2 separate regions of the Homo sapiens genome follow, and region 2 is linked to region 1. Evidence: promoter capture Hi-C in human tissues and cell types (Jung and others, 2019). All regions are on one chromosome and are shown on one strand. Each heading gives the region's core, a stretch centred on a gene start or on the middle of the fragment in contact. The rest is flanking DNA. Distances are from core to core; before and after follow the strand shown.

Region 1 (5,397 bases), core at 1,629-4,128:
TATCTTAAGAATAATTTTATTTCTTTCAAATATCCAAACTGATTTTCCTGAATCGAATGTCAGTTTTGGCTCTGTGCAATATAACAGGGGTCCTGAACCCCAGCCTCGGGGTCCGTGGCCGGTGAGGAGCTGGGCCGCATGGCGCGGTGAATGGCGGCCACTGAGTATTCTCGCCGGAGCTCCAGCTCCTCTCAGAGCCGCGGCCTTAGATTCTCACAGGAATACAAACCCTACTGTGACCTGCACACGCGAGGGATCTAGGCTGGACGCTCCTTATGAGAATCTTATGCCTGATGATCCGAGGTGGAGCAGTTTCATCCCAAAACTATCCCCCTCTCCACCGTTCTTGGAAAAATTGTCTTCCACGAAACCGGTCCTTGTTGCCAAAACAGTTGGGGATTGTTGCTGTATAGAACATAACTTCACCCATGAATGGTCTGGCCTGGGGTTCCACAGGATTGAAGGCACGTGGTTTTAGAATGTCACTCTTTGCATTTCGATCTTCTTTTCTATGTTGTGGGAAATCCTCAGTGAGGCCAACTGTTTTCCATTCACAGGCTGCCAATTTGAGCTGTGGAAATGAGATTGCTGGACTCTTCCTTTGTCTTAGTCAGGATTCTCTTGATGGCCGATGATAGAAAGTCAGCCCAAGGAACTCCGGCAAGAAGGAGCCTGTCTGCCCCAGAGCTGGTGTGTCTGGTGGAGAATGCGGGGCCCATGCCTGGTCCCACCGCCTCCCTCCGTCTTTTGTCCCTTCTTGGCTCCAGGCTTCCTGCAGGTGCACCTCACCCAGGGAGTTTTGGAAGCTACATCCCGGGTGGGCAGGGGCAGGCATGGCTCAGGGAGATGGGGGTCTACGAGGAGGGTGGGGAGGGGTCTCCTGTCCCCAGCAGAAGGCGAAGCTCTGTCCCCATCAGGAGCCTATCTGTGTCCCGGGTCACACTCTGCTCTCTGGGTGGTGTGGCTGAAAGATCCAGGCTTTCTTAGACGCAGCACTGGATTTCTATATCACAGAAGGAGGGCACAGCCACCGTGAAATGTCAGAAAAGGAGGAGGAGTGTGCTGGCCCTTCCTTCTCTCAGGAGAGGCCCCTCCCCGGGATGAGATTGTCCCCTCCTGAGATGCTAGGACTGGGACCCAGGCGACTGAGATGCCAGGACTGGGACTCAGAGGACTGAGATGCCACCTGAGGGGACGAGGCACCATCACTGCCCCTCCAGTGTCGGCCACACTCAGAGGCAGGGGGGCAGAAGGGCTGAAGGGAAGTCCCCCAGGTCCCTGAGAAATGGATTCGCTAGAGAAGGAGATGCTGATAAACCGGAAGTAAACATTGCTTGCTCTGGTCTTGCTGTTTGCAACCCCCCCAAAATATGTGGGTTAAAACCCTAACCCCCAAAACGATGGTGTGAGGAGGTGGGGCCTTAGGGAAGTGACAAGGTCATGGAGGTGGAACCTCCCGAGTGGGATCAGTATCCTCATACAGAGGCCCCAAGAGCGGCCTGGCCCCTTGACTTGGTGAGGACTCAGGGACCGCGCCGTCCCAGAACCAGAAGGCTCTCCCCAGGCAGTGTCTGCTGGTACCTGGATCTTGGACTTCCAGTCCCCAGAACTGTGGGAAAGAAGCTCCTGTGTTTTATAAGCTACACGGTCTATGGTGTTTTGCTAAAGCAGCCTGAATAGACTAAGAAATCACTCAACAAACACTAATTAAATTAAATGCTAGGCCATCAGAATACGAAGGGGAAGAAGACAGAAACACTCGCCTCCTGATCCAGCATCCAGAACGCTCTGGGGCCCAGCAAGAGGCTGTGCTCGCGTCTTTCTCGTATCTGATCTTCGCCTCCATCCACCTGCTCGCTGGTCCTTGGCTGTGCCTCTGATACCCCAGTGTGAGAACGTGGAGTTTCTTAAGGCAATTCTCTTATCATATTTTCTCTACTTGTCACAACAAACTTACAGGAAAGTTGTTATTCCATGCGTTTTAGAGCTGGGGAGCATAGCCCCCGTGGGCTGAGCAGCTGGCCGAAGTCCTCAGCCCCTGTGGTGAGGTGCAGCTGGAGTGTGATTCTCCGGGTCCTCAGATGGGGGCATCCCCTTGAGGCCCCGCCTCTTGGCCAGGCTGCAGCCCAGGACCGTGCCAGGTGTGTGTTATCTATATTTGGACACACGCTGTGCGAAACGACGGGCACCCTGCAATTATCCGTGTGGTGTAGACGCAGTGTACGTCTGTGGTAATGGCTATAAATAAGCCCCGACTTGCCGACTAGGCACCGCTCCTCTTTTGGGTAGGCAGTTCTTGCTAAAATAGCCCTAAGATACAATCGAGTGAAGACCTGAGTCGTTCTTGAAATAAAAAAAAAAAAACGAACAAACACACGAACATGCACACACACGCTCACAAACCCAGGGGCTTGTGCACCTCCCTCCCTCCACAGCCGACCTCAACTCGGGTGTCCAGGCCTGCGAATGGCACAAATGCTCACTGAAATCCATGTCATTATTAAAGACTCATTCAGGAGTTGCAATTTGTGAGCCAGGGAACCTGTAGCTCGAAAGGATTGAAGATATGTCTGAGAATTCACACGTAAGGATTAGAACTCATGGAGGAGAGTTGCGGGGAGGGAGCGTGGGAAGTCAGTGCCCTGCCCTCTCTTTCTGGGTCGGGGGCTGAAGTGTCACACCCGGTTTCCTGGGAAAAGTGCAGTTTGGGACTCAGAAAGGACACGTTCCAGTTTTGAATCGTGATTTCCCCCGCCCTCAGTTTGAACAAGAAGCTTTTCCTCCTGAGGTCAGGCTGGTGATTTACGATGTGGGTATTGATGTGGGGAGAGGCAGGCCCAGGCGTCTATATATAGTAGCTCCTCAGACCTTAAACGGGAGGGAGGCACAGGCGCTTGCTTTGCAGGAGTCAGCTCTGCCTTCCTCGGCTGGAGTGTGGGTGGCTTGGTGAGCCGGTGGTCAGGAATTCTCTCTCCTCCTTGCAATTTTCCTTTCTGTCTGGGTAAGTGTCTTTCTCTTCTTGCCTTTTCTAATTTGTGGCTTTAAGGGGAGGACCGGTAACTTCTGCACTCACATTTTCTAAGTACCTCTACTTCAGGGTCAAGAAGAGAGAGCCAGTGCACCCCGTCGCAGGCACCCTTTACTGTGGAAAACAGAGCAATTAGTTCTGGGATCTGTATTTCTTTGACGAGGTTTTATGCTCAACTAACATTTTATTTCCCACAGCCGTGGTCTTTGCTAAGTGCCGTTTAGCACCCTGCGGCGTGTGCTTTGGGTTTTAGCCCTGGTCTCATCGTGGCCCCAGGGGGCCCCCCAGTCAGTGGACTGATGTCTGCAAGTTTCATGAGATTCTCAGAAACGAAAGCCTCCCCCGAGGAGAGGGCTGACTTATAAAGGTGTGAAATAATAAAACTGGATATTTTCTTAAGGGAAAAAAGAGTCGAGGGTCATTCAGCTTAGACCTAGCCTATATTATCCACGGTATGGGAAAGAGAACAATCCTTGTCAGGACTTGCAAGTTTTTGCCCAAAAATGACAGCGTTCTTACGGCTGTTTTCTTCTTTGTGCTGTTGGGTGTGTTGTGACCCTTCAGACTTCTTCAGCTCCACTCCGCTGATAGAGGCTGTGCCTTCTCAGGGCGTGCTCTTGAAATGCAACCTGCTGGAGAAAGACAGTGGGGCTGGGTGGTTGCACGTGGAAGGCACCGGAGGCAAACGGAAGGAAGGGGTTTGCCATCACTGGGAACACCTGGCCTTTTCTAATTCTCCATTTCACATTCCTTTCTTACTAAGTAGAAGTAAAACAGGACTCAAAGAAAGCGTGGAACAAAGATAATTTAAGGCGTTATTTAATAAACCAAGTCCCAAGCTAAAACTTGTCTTGGGAGCCAAGGGCTTAGCCACTTGTGGCACAGGCCAACGCTGCGTGTCTGGGAGTCCCTTTCCCCTCTAGAAAGCTTTAATTTGGTGTATTTATTGACTTTGACATTTTTAACTGTACAAACAATTTCCTTCATTAAGTGGAAGTCAATGTTTTGTACTTCAAACATTTTTGCAAATTAAAACCCATCCTGGTGACATGAGGAATGGGCTCCACACGTTGTTTGCAGGAAGGAATTAGGATGGGGATATCAGACACGTGGTCCCCTGCACTGGAGGAGAGGCTCGCGTTTCATCCTGGTGTCATGATTCCTAAACGTGTCAGGAGCATTCCGGGAGTGGCCGGGGAGCTGGGCTGTGGTGGAAAGTGGGCTGGACGCTGTCAGGAGAGTCAGCTGGCGCCTGGGTTCGGCCGTGGCCCTACCGGTGACCCGGGCAAGTCATATTTCCCTGGGGACGGTCTGTGCTAACAGTACAGCGTGGCGCCAGGATTATCTACACACAGGCTGTCCAAGCTGGGGGACTGTTAGCTGCCACCTCACTCAGCCCCCTGTTTTACAGCAGAGCAGGTGGAGGCCCCTGAGCTGAAGGTCAGCAGGTCCCCACTGGAGTCTCAGCCTCCCAATGCGCCTGAGCCCCAGGGACTCACATCAAAAACTACCCTGCGAGGAAAAGCTGCTTTCTTTCTCTCTCTCTTTCTTTTTTCTTTTTTTTTTTTTTGGTTGGTGTGTGTAGGGGGTATTTAACACATGTCTGAGATAGTTCCTTAAAAAGGAAAACAGCTTTCTATGTAGACAGTAGAGGGACATTGGGGAGCTGATCGGCCCAGGTCCTGTCATTTTCTTTATAGTGTCATAAATAGTACAGGTTGATCATTCCAAATCTGAAGATCAGAAATCCAGAATGCTCTAAATTCTGAAACTTTGTGAGCGCTGGTATGACTCTCAAAGGAAATGCTTACATGAGCATCTCAAGTATCCAATTTCTGGATTTGAGTTGCTCAACCAGTAAGTATAAATGCAAGTATTCCACAGTCTGAAAAACAAATCGGGAATTGGAAACTCTTCTGGTCCAAGCATTTTGGATAAGGGATGCTCCACCTGTAGGGTGCATTTGGCAAGTCCTCTCCAGGGTTCCCTCCACTCAGAAGGGCCCTGTGCTGCCAGGGCTGCAGGCACCCAGCACGTGCTGAGTCAGTGGGGATTTGCTTGCAAAGACGTCATCACACCCGGCCAGGAGGTGGTGGCCCAGGCTGGGTGAGGGACACTGGGGAAGTTCTAACATAGGAAGTCCCCCAAGGAGTGAAGAGATTGCGGAGGGGACACACATTCAGGGTGGGTGAGGCTGGACGTGCAGTCCTGCTGGTTTTCTGGGTTGGGCATGTGATTGATAAAAGTGGAGTTGAGGGCACATTGGCACTGGGAGTCAAATGCGCAGAAGACTTGAGCTTGCTACTCTCCCGAGCCAGGAGCTCTAAGGTGTTTTCATTGTTGAAATCCAAGGGTTCTGATTTAGGCTT
Region 2 (5,155 bases), core at 293-2,792, 87 kb before region 1:
CTGGCCACGGCTCTGCACGAGAAAGACAAGGACAAATCCAGGGACAGCCTGGCTCCTGGCCCCGAGCCTCAGGACGAAGACCAGAAGGACGCACTTCCGAGTGGAGGAGCTGGTTCATCTCTGAGCCAGGGTGACCCTGACGCAGCCATCTGGTTGGGAGATTCGCTGGGATCGATGACTCAGAAAAGCGACCTGTCCTCCTCATCTGGGTCCCTGAGCTTGTCTCACGGCTCCAGCTCTCTAGAGCACAGATCAGAGGACAGCACCATCTATGATCTCCTGAAGGATCCTGTCTCGCTGAGAAGCAAAGCACGCCGGGCCAAGAAAGCCAAGGCCAGCTCGGCGCTGGTGGTCTGTGGAGGGCAGGGCCACCGCCGGGTGCACAGGAAGGCCCGGCAGCCCCACCAGGAAGAGCTGGCGCCGACCGTCATGGTCTGGCAGATCCCTCTGCTGAATATATAAGCAGGACGGCCGCCTTCTGCTGTCAGAATTTGCAATCAAGGGTGACTTCTCAGCTAATCCTACAGCCTGAGTGGTTAAGCTGTGTCTACACTGGTTGGGAATAAATTAAAAACAGTATTTGGGGGAGAAACGTGCAATAGCGTAATGGTGGTGTCCCTGCCAATTCCTTCCTTCTCTTCTGTACAGCAGAAGTAATTACAAGCACTTCTCACGAAGGCAGAAGACTGATGCAATTTTCGAGTAATTGAGTGCAGTTCTGGGAAAATACCACATTCTTTTTGACTGCTGTAGTCCATATGTGAATACTAAATGTTAAACTTCATCAGCGTCAGACCTATTGTATCATATTAGAGAATTTGCAGACTAAGAATTTATGAGAAAATATATGTATTCAGTAGTGCAGGCATTTATTAACAATTCTTAAAAGTTTTACCTGATTCAGATTCACGACTTTTATTTATATTCTATATTTTTGAATTTCAGAGTAAAATTTGTTAACAATTTTAAAAGCCAGGTAACACCTACCAGTCCAGTTAGCATGATTTGCTTTCAGAAGTGAGCTGGGTTTTCCAAAGTGGTATAATGTGTGTACTGTATATTTTAACAAAGTAATATTTTTGTATTGCATTTTTCTATTAAAAAATTAACAGTTAATGTTTCAGTCAATGTATTATCTGTAGCATTTCACAAATAATGTTTGCTTTGAACCAAAATGCTCAGTGCCTATCAACATTTGGACTCAAGCATCAACACCAAATTATTCCTCCCTTCTCGTATAAATAGAGTGACTATCCACAGGAGAAAAGTGTGTGCTTTAGTATTAGAGGAGATAGGCAGAGAAGTCTTGCTTAGTTCCTTCGTGCAGCTTCTTGCCCCTGTTGACGTGGAATGCTGTGTCTGCTTTAGCACGCACGCTCCGAATGACTCCTGGTGCTAGGCCATGCTGGCTGCTGTCACTGAGCGGGACTCAGGCCAAGAGGCGTGACCTCGGGCCAGCCTGTCTGTTGTGCAGACGCCTCCTCTGCAGAACGCATCAGTTTCTATTCTGCAGTTGCAGAGCCAGCCCCGCGTGAGAACGTGCATAATGAGTGCACACCATCATGTCAAGGTGCATACTTAGTGAGCGCCATCCTGCTGAACGTGTATTTCAGTGTTTCACTTACTGGACGGATAACAAGAAAAAAATCCTAACACAGGCAGGCACCAGAAATAAATGTCTCAGCACTTTACAGATGACTAAAAATGTTAATTTTATGACTTAGCCAAATATGTTCTAGGTTGCATATATCCCCCATGTGAAAGTGATTTCTTCCCAAGCTTCTCAAACTGTTAGCTGCTGTCTGACTTCATCAATAAAGTATTTTTATTTTAAAATGCAGTAGGATGAGTTGCCTCTTTTCTGTGTCAAGTGGAAAGGGACATCAACCTCGGGGGGCTGGGTGGGGGGCTTGGCCTGCCCGTTCCTAGCTGCATCACCACTTGCTGCTTTGGGGAGACTCCGTGTCTGAATCCCAGCAACGCACCCAACTGCGTGGAGCACCGCGCTCTGAATTGGAAGTAGGCACTGGGAATCTTTCAAGCAACTCATGTACTTGTTCTTTATTTGTTTGAAGAGACAAAGTCTCCCTCTGTCGCACAGGTTGCAGTGCAGGGGCGTGATCATGGCTCACCATAACCCCCTGGGCTCCCACAGTCACTGCAGTCTCAACCTCCCAGGTTCAAGCAGTTCTCCCACCTCAGTCTCCTGAGTAGCTGGGACTACAGATGCACACAACCACACCTAACTCTTTTTTTCTTTTTAACATTTTGTAGAGATGGGGTCTCGCTATGTTGTCCAGGCTAGTGTCAAACTCCTGACCTCAAGCAGTCCTCGTGTCTGAGCCTCCCAAAGTGCTAAGTTTCCTAGTGTGAGCCAGGAGTTGGTTGGCAGAATTTTGCCACCCTTCAAGCCTCTGATGGCGGCTCTGATCTCTGCGATTCTTCCAGGAAGGCAGGATGGATTTACTAATTTGGTAGAAAAGGGGAGGGGGGTTCAGAGGCTTCCAATTGATGTTCCTAATTCAGTGGTTCTGACTTCACAGTCATGCCCAGCCTACACTTGGCCATTCCATTTTGAGTTATGAGTAGAATGAGTTTCCTGTAAAATGTTCCTATTGTGGGTGTTTTACCAGACCAGGGCCAACACCTTACATGGAGAGATGAAATGGATGTGTAAAGTTAACTTGCTGGGACAGAAATCTTTCCACACGATTGATGGTGCGGGACATGGACAGAGTGGGGTCTGTGTAACTGACTCCTTAACTCCCTCTGCCCTCCTAGAGAAGAGAGACTTCCAGAGATCCTGAGAGAGGCAGACGCGGGAGGGCTTTGAGGGAGGAAGAGGTTGGAGAACGTGGGCTACAAAGAACTCCCGCTATGCCAGGACGCGGGTTCTGCTTTCACAGTGAATGAGGAAAACAAGCATATCACCAACAAATGAAGCCGTGCAGACAGGCAAGTGCGTTCTCTAAGCAACAAGCTTCTACTGAGCACCTGATGAGTGTCAGAGGTGAGGCCAAGCTCTGTCTTAGGCCCTGAGGATGGGACAAGAGAGAAAAAGCCTCCCTTTGGGGTTGCCACTGCTGGTTTATTCCCCCTCTCCTCTGCAGAGCCCTGGGCTCTTCCTGGACAGGGATTAACCCAGTGACAGCAGGACACTTGGGAGCCCAGGGCCAAATGGCTGCGTCTCCCCCAGCTTCCGGGCCCCCATCTGCTGGGTAGACCCTCGGTAACTTGATCAACAAGGAGCCTGGCTGGCATCACGATCTCACCTCCTGATGGGGCCCCTGTCCTCTGGGGCGTGGCCAGGCTTGGTGTTTCATCACAGCAGCCCGAACGGAGACAGGAAGGCACCAAGAGGCATTGCTCAGCAATGAACAAAAACCTGCAGGTCATGGTCCAAGTCCCACACCTGAGTCAGCTCACAGGCTCGGAGCTCACTGACTGAAGGGGGAGTCAGGTTCACCTGAGGAAGGACCCCACACGTAGGCTGCAGGTCCCTTTGGTCGATGCTTCCCCAAAGGGACCTGCATGCGTGTGCTGGGAAGACTGCAGTGGTAACGGGAAAGAGCAGACCTTGGAAACTGTCCAGGCTCTGAGTCGCCGCTGAGCAGACAAGCAGAGCGGCACCTTGGGCTGTAGAGGGGTCTTATGAAAGCCACATGGCGCGTAGAGTTAGGCCCATGTCCGTCTCACAAGGGCCTATGGGTCTCCAGGTGTATAATTGGGATGGACAGAGCTGGCAGCTGGCAGAAACCATCACTGGTTCCTTAACCTGTGAAGTCAGAGCCACTGAATTAGGGACCATCAGTTGGAAGGCTCTGAACACCCCTCCCCATTCCTACCAAATTAGTAAATCCATCCTGCCTTCCTGGAGGAATCGCAGAGATCAGAGCCACTGTCAGAGGCTCAAAGGATGGTGAAATTCCAGTGCCCGCCAATTCCCATGTAATTCATGGAACTGGGCACTGCAGACACCAGGCTGTGATGGAAGGTGGCGGTGGGGTCCTGCAGCGTGACCAGGTAGTCTCTCCAGTCACAGCCGCTGTGACAAATAGCGTCTTTACCAGAACAGATCAGCACAGCTGCCGATTCAGCAACTGCACTCTTCTCCACACCCTATCCATGGAGAGAAGACAGTTTGTGTTGACTTGGCGAGGACTGCAGTACACTTACTGCCTTGCCCACTGTGCTGTCAACACTGGCTTTACTATAAGGCCACAGGGTCACTACTGTGTCGATGATCTCATGCTGCCTGGACCTGGGAGAACCCAGGTGACCTAGGAATGCAGGTACCTGCCTCAGGCTGGGAGATATCGGAGGCCTGCCACATCATTGAAGCTTCTGGGGTTTCAGCATCTGAGCATGCCCTGATACACCCTATGAGGTAAAGGGCAAACCATACCCCACGCTCCATGCCATTCTGGGGAGCAGTGACTGGGGGACCTCTGGAGTTTGGACCCAGCATGCACTACACATGGGAAGACTGCTCCAACTCATTTCTGGGGAGCCTCTAAGGCTGGCGGTTTTGAATGGGGCCAAGAGCGGGGAAAAGCCTGCTGAGCCACTTCTGCAGCACAGACGCCTTGCCCGGCCTCATGGTGATGCAGATATGACTATGCTGAGACGTTGCTGTAACAGCACGGCCCACAGAGCTGCGGAGCCAGGCTCTCAGTTATCTCCCGTTTGAAAAATGGAGCTTGGGTGGTACTAGGCCCAGTCAAAATTGGGCGCCAGGATCCCTGCAGAGGCCACTGTCTCTGCGCGGGCTGCAGAACAAACCACCATAGACTGGGCAGCCTCACCACGTTGATTTCTCCCTGTGCTGGAGGCTAAGTCAGATCCGGGTGCCGGCACGGTTGGGTCGTCGGGAGGGCTCCTTCCTGGCCTGCAGCCAGCCACCTTCTCACCATGTCCTCCCATCGGGGAGAGGAAGCAAGTTCTCTTACAAAGACACGATCCCATCGTGAGGGCCCCACGCTGGTGACCTCATCCCCTCCCAGAGGCCATCACACTGGGAATTAGGGCCTTGGCATATTAATTTGGGGGGATATGAACCTGCAGCCCAGAACAGATGCCGACTCAGCTAAGCAGCCCGTGGAATGCTGTCATGAGATGGGTGAGTTGCAGGCTGGGGTGGACACGATACCTTAGG

The links. The method cuts DNA at HindIII sites, captures the fragments that hold promoters and counts their contacts. A contact is called where the count stands out against the background at its distance.
Region 2: a contact is called between a fragment that was not itself captured here and the fragment with the promoter of MYOM2 in region 1, in 2 of the 25 tissues and cell types used here (heart left ventricle and mesendoderm cells).

What each region holds. Positions count from the first base shown.
Region 1 is chr8:2,042,168-2,047,564 of GRCh38, forward strand. MYOM2 (myomesin 2) reads left to right here and starts at 2,879. Exons shown (of 37, transcript NM_003970.4): 1 at 2,879-3,001. The HindIII fragment of the contact is 6,844 bases long and covers 1-5,397 here.
Region 2 is chr8:1,956,802-1,961,956 of GRCh38, forward strand. It overlaps ARHGEF10 (Rho guanine nucleotide exchange factor 10), which reads left to right. Exons shown (of 29, transcript NM_014629.4): 29 at 1-1,840. The coding sequence ends at 462. Among named protein-coding and RNA genes, the nearest start is that of KBTBD11-OT1, 12 kb to the right of the region's middle. The HindIII fragment of the contact is 4,235 bases long and covers 1-3,660 here.